Linked DNA regions of Homo sapiens: regions 2 and 3 are each linked to region 1. The links are contacts of gene promoters, found by promoter capture Hi-C in blood cells and fetal thymus (Javierre and others, 2016). All regions are on one chromosome and are shown on one strand. Each heading gives the region's core, a stretch centred on a gene start or on the middle of the fragment in contact. The rest is flanking DNA. Distances are from core to core; before and after follow the strand shown. Region 1 holds the start of E2F5 (E2F transcription factor 5). Region 2 overlaps RMDN1 (regulator of microtubule dynamics 1). Region 3 overlaps WWP1 (WW domain containing E3 ubiquitin protein ligase 1).

Region 1 (3,260 bases), core at 265-2,764:
TCAAATCAAATAAAGATAGCCTTTCTTGGATAGGTTGTTGGAAAATGGTTGTATCAACTGAATTTTTCATGTTTTACTTCAGATTTTCAATTTTAAGTTTTGTTTATAGATTTGATTAAAATAAAGGTTATTATGAATAGGTTATTAATAAAGGTTATAAAGTTCTGTGCCTATGATGTGTTATAAATGGTGTGTTCAGCTTTACTAGTTAATGCTGTTGTATTTGATGTCGCTTCAGTGACCTTTTTTGTTAGTTTATTGTTACTTAAAATTAAGCAAAATCTTTCTTGCATGAAATCTTCTTGATTAATTATTGCCATATAGAATTTTCATTCACCTAATCTTTTTTTTTTTTATTTGAGACAGAGTCTTGCTTTGTTGCCCAGGCTGAAGTGCAGTGGTGGCATCTCGGCTCACTGCAACACTGCAACGTCTGCCTCCTGGGTTTAAGAGATTCTCCTGCCTCAGGCTCTGGAGTAGCTGGGACTATAGGCGGGCACCACCACCCCCCGCTAATTTTTGTATTTTTAGTAGAGACGGGGTTTTACCATGTTGGCCAGGTTGGTCTCGAACTCCTGATCTCAAATGATCTGCCTGCCTCGGCCTCCCAAAGTGCTGGGATTACAGGCGTAAGCCACCGCGCCTGGTCTCATTCGCCTAATCTTTATTGTCTACTATATTCAAAGTGTTGAGTGTGACAACAAGTCATTTAAAATTTAGTCTGGATTCTCAAGAGTTTGTAATATAATGAGGAAAAAATCCCAACGACTTTCTTTTACTCAGATCTCCATAATGTCATTTGCCATCAATAGTTTGGAATATCACTGAAGTCCAAGGGCCTGTGGCTACCCAATATTCCAAATACAATATAATTTGGTTCAAATAAGATATTAAGAACTTTGGTCAAGAACTTTGGTCAAACACAGGAGATCTGGAATCTAACGGCATGTCTTTGGCAATTCACAACCTCTCCCTCTACACGTTTCTCCATGTAGAAAGTAAAGGCCTTGGAAAGGATTGATGAAAACCAACCCTAAAACTCCACGATGCCTTTTTCTGTACTCCGAATCTAAAAGGGTGAGCTATGAAGTAAAACTCTGCACTTGGTCCAAGTCATTGAAATATTTGCAAACGATGCTAGAGCTCGAAAAGAGCAAAGATAGCAGAAACCGTCCAGAGAAAGTAACCTACTGCTGAAGCTCTGCAAACTTGAGCAGTCAACCAACTTCACCGCTCACAAACGTTTGGCCGCTAGGCATTGTGACTTTCTGCCCAGATAAAAGTCTTTTTTTCTTTTGTCTCCTTTTTTTCTTCCTCCCTGCTTTGCCGCGTGAGATTACCACTCCTCGGGTCAGCTCGCGAACGCCAGGGAGGCGAGTGTGAAACACACGCGCCAACACCCCTCCTCCTCCTCGTGCGCTCCTCCTTCCTACAGAAAAATGTGTTTCTAGGCAACGGCGGGCGGCGGCGTCACTTCCTGCCATTTAAACTCAGGTCCCCACCCCTCGCAGCCCCTTCTCCTCGTTTCCACCCCTCCCCCCTCGGTCGTGGGCCTCATTCACGCTTCCCCGGGCTTGGGGAGGGGGCGGAGGCCCGGCGTGACAAGCGGCCCAGACTCCCGTGGGCGCCGCACACCTGTTGTTTGCAGCAGCCAGCGACCCGCACTACCGCTCTCGGCGGGCGGGGAAGCGGCCGCAGCGGAGCCGACCCGGCAGGTGGCCGCGGGCGGGGCCGGCGAGCGAAAGTGCGCGGGGGCCCGACCACCGCGGGGCCGGGACGCGATGGCGGCGGCAGAGCCCGCGAGCTCGGGCCAGCAGGCGCCGGCAGGGCAGGGGCAGGGCCAGCGGCCGCCGCCGCAGCCTCCGCAGGCGCAAGCCCCGCAGCCGCCCCCGCCGCCGCAGCTCGGGGGCGCCGGGGGCGGCAGCAGCAGGCACGAGAAGAGCCTGGGGCTGCTCACTACCAAGTTCGTGTCGCTGCTGCAGGAGGCCAAGGACGGCGTTCTGGATCTCAAAGCGGTGAGCTCCGGAGGCGGGGACGGGGGCGGACTTCGGAACCCGTGGCCCCCGGGGAAGCCCAGCCCCTCGCCGCGTGGGTCTAGCGGCGTGGTGTAGACGCGCCTTGCGGGGACCCGGGACCGGGCAATCCGAGGACCATGTGGCCTGCGCCCGGGTCGTGGACGCCGGGATGGGGGAGGGACGAGGGACCAGGATGGCACCGAGCGGACGCGTAACCAATGGGGCCCGGCGCCACGCTGGGCTCTCGACAAAGAGCCCAGGACCTCGAGCGCGCCCGCGTGGCTTCTGTCTCCGGGCGCAGGGACCTGAGGGTAACCGAGTGTCTGTTGCTCTGCGTCCACCTGTGGCAGAGGCTCACGGGGTAACGGGCGCTTTGCCCGGAGACACCGTGGATATCGATTTTGCTGTTAAGAATGGATGGTTTTAATAGGCGATTCCAGTTGGAACCATGTTCCTGTAGTTTAAATAAAAAGGAGGAAAAACAAAACCCAGTCTGCCATCTCTACCAGATGAAAGAAAAAAAAAAAAGAGTACTTCTTTCCACGCCCCTCCCCGATAAAATAGTATTAAATCTTCCTTGTGCACTTCTTTCATCACCCTGATAGTTAGGAGGGGTATTTGATTTGTGACTTCATTTGGCATGTGTCATGGGTTTCCAAAAGTGAGATCTGCTGTCACACGAAAAGGGGATATTTTACAACTTTCACCCAAAGAGGTGGAAGTGCTCAGTAAACTCTCTCCCTGCGTCGTCCTTTACAGCGTTCAGATTTTTCAAACAGGAGCAGGCATCAAAAGCTGTTCTGTCATACAGAATGACTTAACCGATCTAGGAAGGATTTGGAAGAATTCAACAGCGCTCAGGATAATGAGAATGTGGTCACTCCGCGCGAAGTTTAAGAACTAAAGTTTTAGAAACAAACAAACAAAAAACACTAACTGCCCAATAATCACTGCAAATCCCCTTTGACTCCCTAAATGTGGCCTTACTTGGAGGATTGGCCCCAGCTCCCAGGGGAGTGCCTGGACCACCTTACCTGGCTTGAGAGTGTCACTGCATCCTCAAGGCTCTGCATAAAGCAGTGGCAGCTCCCTGAATGTAAGGACCAAGACTTGCAGGGGCCAACTCTTCTGCTAGAGGCCCTCCTCCAGTGTAGCCCAAGGGGAAGTAGATCTTTTCAGTGCCCTCTCCTTTCCCTGGATGTAGTTGGTGTTCAATCAGTGATTGTTGAACTGAATTACCTAAAT
Region 2 (3,260 bases), core at 395-2,894, 1.3 Mb after region 1:
TTAAACTCCTGGGCTCAAGTGATCCTCCCACCTCAGCCTCCCAAAGTGCTGGGATTACAGGCATGAGCCGCCATGCCCAGCCAAGTTTTAATATACGTTTACTTATCTATATTACGCCAATAAGAAATTTGATGGATTTTTCTTTTTTTCGCTTTCAACTTGTTACTTACCAAGCAGCATTCTGTTTGTAAATAAAATCTATCTATCTCAAAGTACTAGAGCCTTTTGTTAACCAAATCAAGAAGAATATAACACCCCGGGATTGGTTTCATTTTGTCACTATAAAGCAGGGATTAGCAAACTTTTTCTGTAAAGATCCAGAGAATAAAATATTTCAGGCTTTGTGAGCCATACATGGTCTCTGTAGCATGTTCTTTTTCTTCCCCCCAACTCTTCAAACTCAACCCTTTAAAAATGTAAAAGAATATTCTTCTTAGGTTAAGGGCTCTACAAAAATATAAACCGTTAATAAAGCATCACTGAGGCAGCTCTAATTTCTAGGAAAAAATATATATACATGATATTAGACAGACACATAGAGAAAGGCAGAAAATAATCTAGACCACAGCAATGTTAGCTCCATTACCTATATAAAAATAACTAAGTTAGGCCAGGTGCGGTGGCTCACGCCTGTAATCCCAGCACTTTGGGAGGCCGAGGCGGCCAGATCATGAGGTCAGGAGTTTGAGACCAGCCTGACCAACATGGTGAAACCCCGTCTCTACTAAAAATACAAAAATTAGCTAGGTATGGTGATACGTGCCTATAATCCCAGCTACTCAGGAGGCTGAGGCAGGAGAATGGCTAGAACCTGGAAGGCAGAGGTTGCAGGGAGCCGAGATCGCACCACTGCACTCCAGCCTGAGCAATAGAGCAAGACTCCGTCTCAAAACAAAACAAAACAAAACAAAAAAAAAAAAAAAAAACAAAAAAAAATAACAAAAATAACTTGAGAGATGCTGTAATGGTGAGAGTTTAGAGCATTCCTGAGGACCTGGAGAAAACTCGTTTCTGAGAAGGACATTTTGAAGGTTTTGTTGCCTGAAAAAGTTATCTCTGGAATCACACTCCTAGATCTTTATTGAAGACTTGAAAAGAATTAGATTAGGACCATGCGGACACAGAAGGTCACCCCAGCTCTGATCGTTGCCATTACAGTTGCTACAATTGGCTCTTTCCAAGTTGGCTACAACACGGGAGTCATCAGTGCTCCTGAGATGATCATAAAGGAATTTATCAATAACACTTTGAGTGACCAGGCAAATATCCCTCCCTCTGAGATGTTGCTCACGTCCCTCTGGTCCTTGTCTGTGGCCATATTCTCCATTGTTGGTATGACTGGCTCCTTTTCCGTTAGACTCTTTATCAACCACTTTTTGACAGGTGCAATTCAATGCTTATCGTCAACCTGTTGGCTGTCTCTGGTGGCTGCCTTATGGGATTGTGTAAAGCAGCTGAGTTGGTTGAAATGCTGACCCTGGGCTGCTTGGTTATTGGCCTCTTCTGTGGACTGTGCACAGGTTTTATGCCCATGTACATTGGAGAGATCTCAGCTACTGCCCTGCAGGGTACCTTTGGCACTCTCAACCAGCTGGGCATCATTGTCAGAATTCTGGTGGCCCAGATCTTTGGTCTGGAATTCAAATTCATCCTTGGGTCTGAAGAGCTATGGCCGGTATTATTGGGCTTTACCATCCTTCCTGCTATCCTACAAAGTGCAGCCCTTCCATTTTGCCCTGAAAGTCCCAGGTTTTTGCTCATTAACAGAAAAGAAGAGGAGAATGCTAAGTAGATCCTCCAGCAGTTGTGGGGCACCCAGGATGTATCCCAAGACAACCAGGAGATGCAAGATGAGAGTGCAAGGATGTCACAAGAAAAGCAAGTCACCGTGCTGGAGTTCTTTAGAGTATCCAGCTACCAACAGCCAATCATCATTTCCATTGTGCTCCAGCTCTCTCGACAGCTCTCTGGAATCAATGTTGTGTTCTATTACTCAACAGGAATCTTCAAGGATGCAGGTGTTCAAGAGCCCATCTATGCCACCATTGGTGCACGTGTGTTTAATACTATCTTCACTGTAGTTTCCCTATTTCTGCTGCAAAGGGCAGGAAGGCGGACCCTGCATATGATAGGCCTTGGAGGGATGGCTTTTTGTTCCATGCTCATGACTGTTTGTTATTAAAGGATGAGTATAATGGGATGAGCTTTGTCTTTATCGGGGCTATCTTGGTCTTTGTGGCCTTTGAAATTGGACCAGGTCCCATTTCCTGGTTTATTGTGGCCGAACTCTTCAGCCAGGGCCCCCGCCCAGCTGCGACTGCAATGGCCGGCTGCTCCAACTATACCTCCAACTTCTTAGTCGGACTGCTCTTCCCCTCTGCTGCTTATTATTTAGGAGCCTGTATTTTTATTATCTTCGCCAGCTTCCTCATCACCTTCTTGACCTTTACCTTCTTCAAAGTCCCTGAGACCCATGGCAGGGCTTTTGAGGATATCACATGGGCCTTTAAAAGGCAGGCACATGGTGCAGATAGATCTGGGAAGGATGGCATCATGGAGATGAACAGCATCCAGGCTGCTAAGGAGACCACCACCAATGTCTAAGTCATGCCTCCTTCCACCTCCCTCCCAGCATGGGAAAGCCACCTCTCCCTGAATGAGAGACCTCATCAGGATGAACCCAGGACTGCTTCTGAATGCTGCTACTTGATTCCTTTCTTATCCCACGCACTCCATGCGCACCTCAAGGCTGGGGTTTGTTGGATTTTCAATGGTTTTTTAAATATTTTATTTCCTGGACATTCTCTTCTGCTTAGGAGAGACCAAGTGAACCTACCTTCATTTCAGGAGGCAATGGCCACTTGGCATATGACAACTTTGCCAGTTTTTCCTTCCTTGGGTTCTAATATTGCCGCACTAGGGGATATAGGAGAGGAAAAGTAAGGCGCAGTTCCCCCAACCTCAGACTTATCAGGAAGAAGATATACATATGAGTGTGGAAGGCAGACGGGGTTTATGTAAGAGCACCTTCCTCACTTCCATATAGCTCTACAAGGCAAATTAACTTGAGTTTTATTTATTTTACCCTCTGGTTTAATTACATAATTTTTTAAGTTCTGGGATACAGGTGCAGAATGCGCAGGTTTGTTACATAGGTATACATGTCCCATGATGGAAATGTTTATTTTTTTAAGTGTAATTTTGCCAAATAATAAAAACAGAAGGAAATTGAGATTGGAGGGAGGTGTTTAAAGAGAGGT
Region 3 (3,260 bases), core at 426-2,925, 1.2 Mb after region 1:
ATAAGTATCATTGCATTGGCCCTTAAATGATTAATAGGATGGAGCAGGATGCCAAAGGCCTTCTTACATACATTTAGCCATTTGTTCAATCATTGGGCAAATATTTAAGTGGGATTACACAGTACTGTAATTCCCATGGTACTCATTATATGAATTTAGTTATTTCTAGGAGGTTTCAGTTAACAGAGCTAGGAAATGTTTCTTGTAGAAAGCAAAAAATAAAAAATATTTTAACATCCTGAGTTCATGCTGATATTTCCAATTCATAATAATAACTGTAGTCTATAAGTACCATTTTCTACTAAAAGGAAACAAAATTTAAATTAATTTGACTTTATATTCATATCTTTTTTTTTCTTTTGAGATAGGGTCTCACTTTCTCTCCCTGGCTGGAGTACGGTGGCGCAAACATACCTCCTTGTAGCCTCAAACTACTGGGCTGAAGTGATCCTCGTGCTTCAGCCTCCCAAGTAGTTGGGACTGCAGATGTTCAACACCTTGCCTGGCTAATTTAAAAAAAAATTTTTTTAGAGACAGGGTCTCACTATGTTGCCCACGCTGGTCTTGAACTCTTTGTTTCAAGCAATCCTTTTGCACCACCCTCCCAAATTGAGCCACTGTGCCTGGCCTGTAACTCTCTCCTCTTAATCAAAAAATCTCCATTCAAAATGACATTATCATAATATCTGTTTTTATCCTACTACACCAGTTCAAAATAACATGAAAATTACCAAAAACAGAGGGAGAAGGAGGTGAAAAAAAGGTAATTTAAAAAATTACCAAAAACAATAGGTCTACTCATTGCAGTTTAAGATTTCTTTGTGTGTTTTCCCCCTTTAGGACGTATAATCAAAATACCATGTTTTAATGTACTTTAGTAATTCTCTATTTGGTTATATCACCAAATTGATAATTAGTTAAGTTCATCGTTTTCAGTTTTTTTTTTAATTTTGTTTTATAACCTTGTAAGACATTTACATAGTCCCAGAGTCAAAACCAAGGTACATTTAGAGAGGTCTGGCTACTTGGTCCCATTTTCCCACTTCTCTCCCTTGCCCTGTAGGTTCACATTTTTATTAGTTTTGCTTTATCCTTCTGTTGCTTCTTTTTGAAAATATAAGCAGATACATGTGCAGTATACGTATCTCATCTCTCCTCTTAATCTCCTAATTCTTGCATACTTCTCTGTGCTTTGCTTTTTTTAACTTTACAGTATTATTCTGGAGTTTGTTTCATAACAGAATATTCTTTTTCATCATTGCGCCATATCCTGTTGAATAGATGTAAAAAAGCTAACTAGTCTCCTTTTGCTGGACATTGGCGTTCCACTGTTTGCTATTACCAATAGTGCTGCAACAAATAACTTCATACAAAAGTCGTTTCTTATGTCTGCTCATGTATCAATAGGATAGGATCCTAGAATGAGATTGCTGGGTCAAAGGGTAGACACATGTAATTTTGCCAGGTATTGCCAAGTTCCTCTCCATGGGGTCTGCACCATTTTGTGTCTACACCAGCTATACATGACAGTGCCTGTTTTCCCAAAGCCTAACCAAAATCTGTTGTCAAGCTTTGGGATTGTTCATAATTAGACACTGAAGTGGTATCTTAGTGTTATTTAAAATAGCATTTCTCTCACTGTAAGGTTGAACTATAAGGGATATTTGGATTTTGGTTTCTGTGAATAATGGGCATCTATTTTTGAAACAGTTCTGATGAAGCTGATAGGTACTCCACTGAAGAACCACTTACATAATTCCTTCTACTTTTGCTCTGTATAAGAAGCTTAGAGCCCTATTTTCACTACATTTTCAGTTTATTGTAACTTGCGTAGGACCAATGGACAGTACACCTGAGGTGTAACTTTCAAATGATCTTGACCTATGTATAAGAGTTCTTAGGTAAAATAAGAAAAAACTAGGCCAGGCGCGGTGGCTCATGCCTGTAATCCCAGCACTTTGGGAGGCCGAGGCAGGTGGATCACGTGAGGCCAGGAGTTTGTGACTGGCCTGGCCAACATGGTGAAACCCCATCTCTACTAAAAATACAAAAATTAGCCGGGCATAGTGGCACATGCCTGTAATCCCAGCTACTTGGGAGGCTTAGGCATGAGAATCACTTGAACACTGGAGGTGGAGGTTGCAGTGAGCCGAGATGGCGTCACTGCATTCCAGCCTGGGGGATAAAGTGAGGCTCTGTCTCAAAAAAAAAAGAAAGAAAAAGAAAAGAAAAAGAAAAACCTGATCTGGCTAATTTGAGGTGAAAAAGAACATACTGAAAGACTATCAGGTGACTCAAATCTGGAGAACCAGTTGGAAAATAGATGTGGACCAAGGCAGTCTAAGTAGCCAAAACAATGCCATGACAGTATTTATCATTTTGAGCGTCAGTTGCTGCTCTCCTTTGAAATACAGTGATCCTTTTGGGAAAGAATGATCATGGACCTGTGCTAAATGGCACCAGGTTTTAGTGCCTTCTTTTCTTCTTGTCTTTGTCTTCCGTTTTGTTGATCTAATTTTTAAAATAAAAGTCACCTTAAAATTACCAGTCTTACTGATCTCACAATAACTTCTGCAATAAAGATTACTACTCCTGATTTGTCAGTGAGGACACTGAGAATCAGAGGGATTAAGTGCCTTGGGTTAATAATGAGAAACCAACTGAGGTCTTAGGACTCCAAGTTGTTGCTCCTTTTATTAGATTACAAAGACCTCTGTATTGATTTTTTCTTTTTTTTGAAATGGAGTCTTGCTCTGTTGCCCAGGCTGGAGTGCAGTGGCGTGATCTTGGCTCACTGCAACCTCCCCCTCCTGGGTTCAAGTGATTCTCCTGCATCAGCCTCCCAAATAGCTGAGATTACAGGTGCATGCCAGCATTCCTGTCTAATTTTTTTTTTTTTTTTTGTATTTTCAGTAGATACGGGGTTTCACCGTGTTGGCCAGGCTGGTCTCGAACTCCTGACCACAGGTGATCCGCCTGCCTCGGCCTCCCAGAGTGCTGGGATTACAGGCTGAGCCACCACGCCCAGGCTTTTCTTTTCTTTTTAAAAACAGTAAGTACTCAGATTAAGACCCCTCTAATATTGCAGTCTGGCTGTTTATTGTCTGTAAACCGAGGTTCTCTGCCCTAAGCCAATTTTTTTTTTTTATTTTTAGCATATTTACTCTTATCCTCATTTCTGTTCTTAACCCTTATCTGATTGGCAGCAACATGTAAGAATAAGAGCATTGATCATGGAACGCGGAAAAACTGATGGAAAA

What was found. The method cuts DNA at HindIII sites, captures the fragments that hold promoters and counts their contacts. A CHiCAGO score of 5 or more calls a contact.
Region 2: a fragment that was not itself captured here is called in contact with the fragment with the promoter of E2F5 in region 1 in 1 of 17 cell types (total B cells); the score reaches 5.5 in total B cells.
Region 3: a contact is called between a fragment that was not itself captured here and the fragment with the promoter of E2F5 in region 1, in 1 of 17 cell types (fetal thymus). The highest score is 6.6, in fetal thymus.

Annotation. Positions count from the first base shown.
Region 1 is chr8:85,175,640-85,178,899 of GRCh38, forward strand. It overlaps E2F5 (E2F transcription factor 5), which reads left to right and starts at 1,515. Exons shown (of 8, transcript NM_001951.4): 1 at 1,515-2,015. The coding sequence starts at 1,782. E2F5-DT (E2F5 divergent transcript) reads right to left here and starts at 1,402. Exons shown (of 3, transcript NR_134311.1): 1 at 1,192-1,402. RefSeq lists an enhancer at 1,176-1,345 and silencers at 1,446-1,975, 1,986-2,375. The HindIII fragment of the contact is 15,711 bases long and covers 1-3,260 here.
Region 2 is chr8:86,502,464-86,505,723 of GRCh38, forward strand. All of the region lies in intron 2 of RMDN1 (regulator of microtubule dynamics 1), which reads right to left. It also overlaps the pseudogene SLC2A3P4. Among named protein-coding and RNA genes, the nearest start is that of RMDN1, 4.6 kb to the right of the region's middle. The HindIII fragment of the contact is 3,916 bases long and covers 1-3,260 here.
Region 3 is chr8:86,374,367-86,377,626 of GRCh38, forward strand. The region is part of intron 3 of WWP1 (WW domain containing E3 ubiquitin protein ligase 1); the gene reads left to right. Among named protein-coding and RNA genes, the nearest start is that of WWP1-AS1, 32 kb to the left of the region's middle. The HindIII fragment of the contact is 215 bases long and covers 1,569-1,783 here.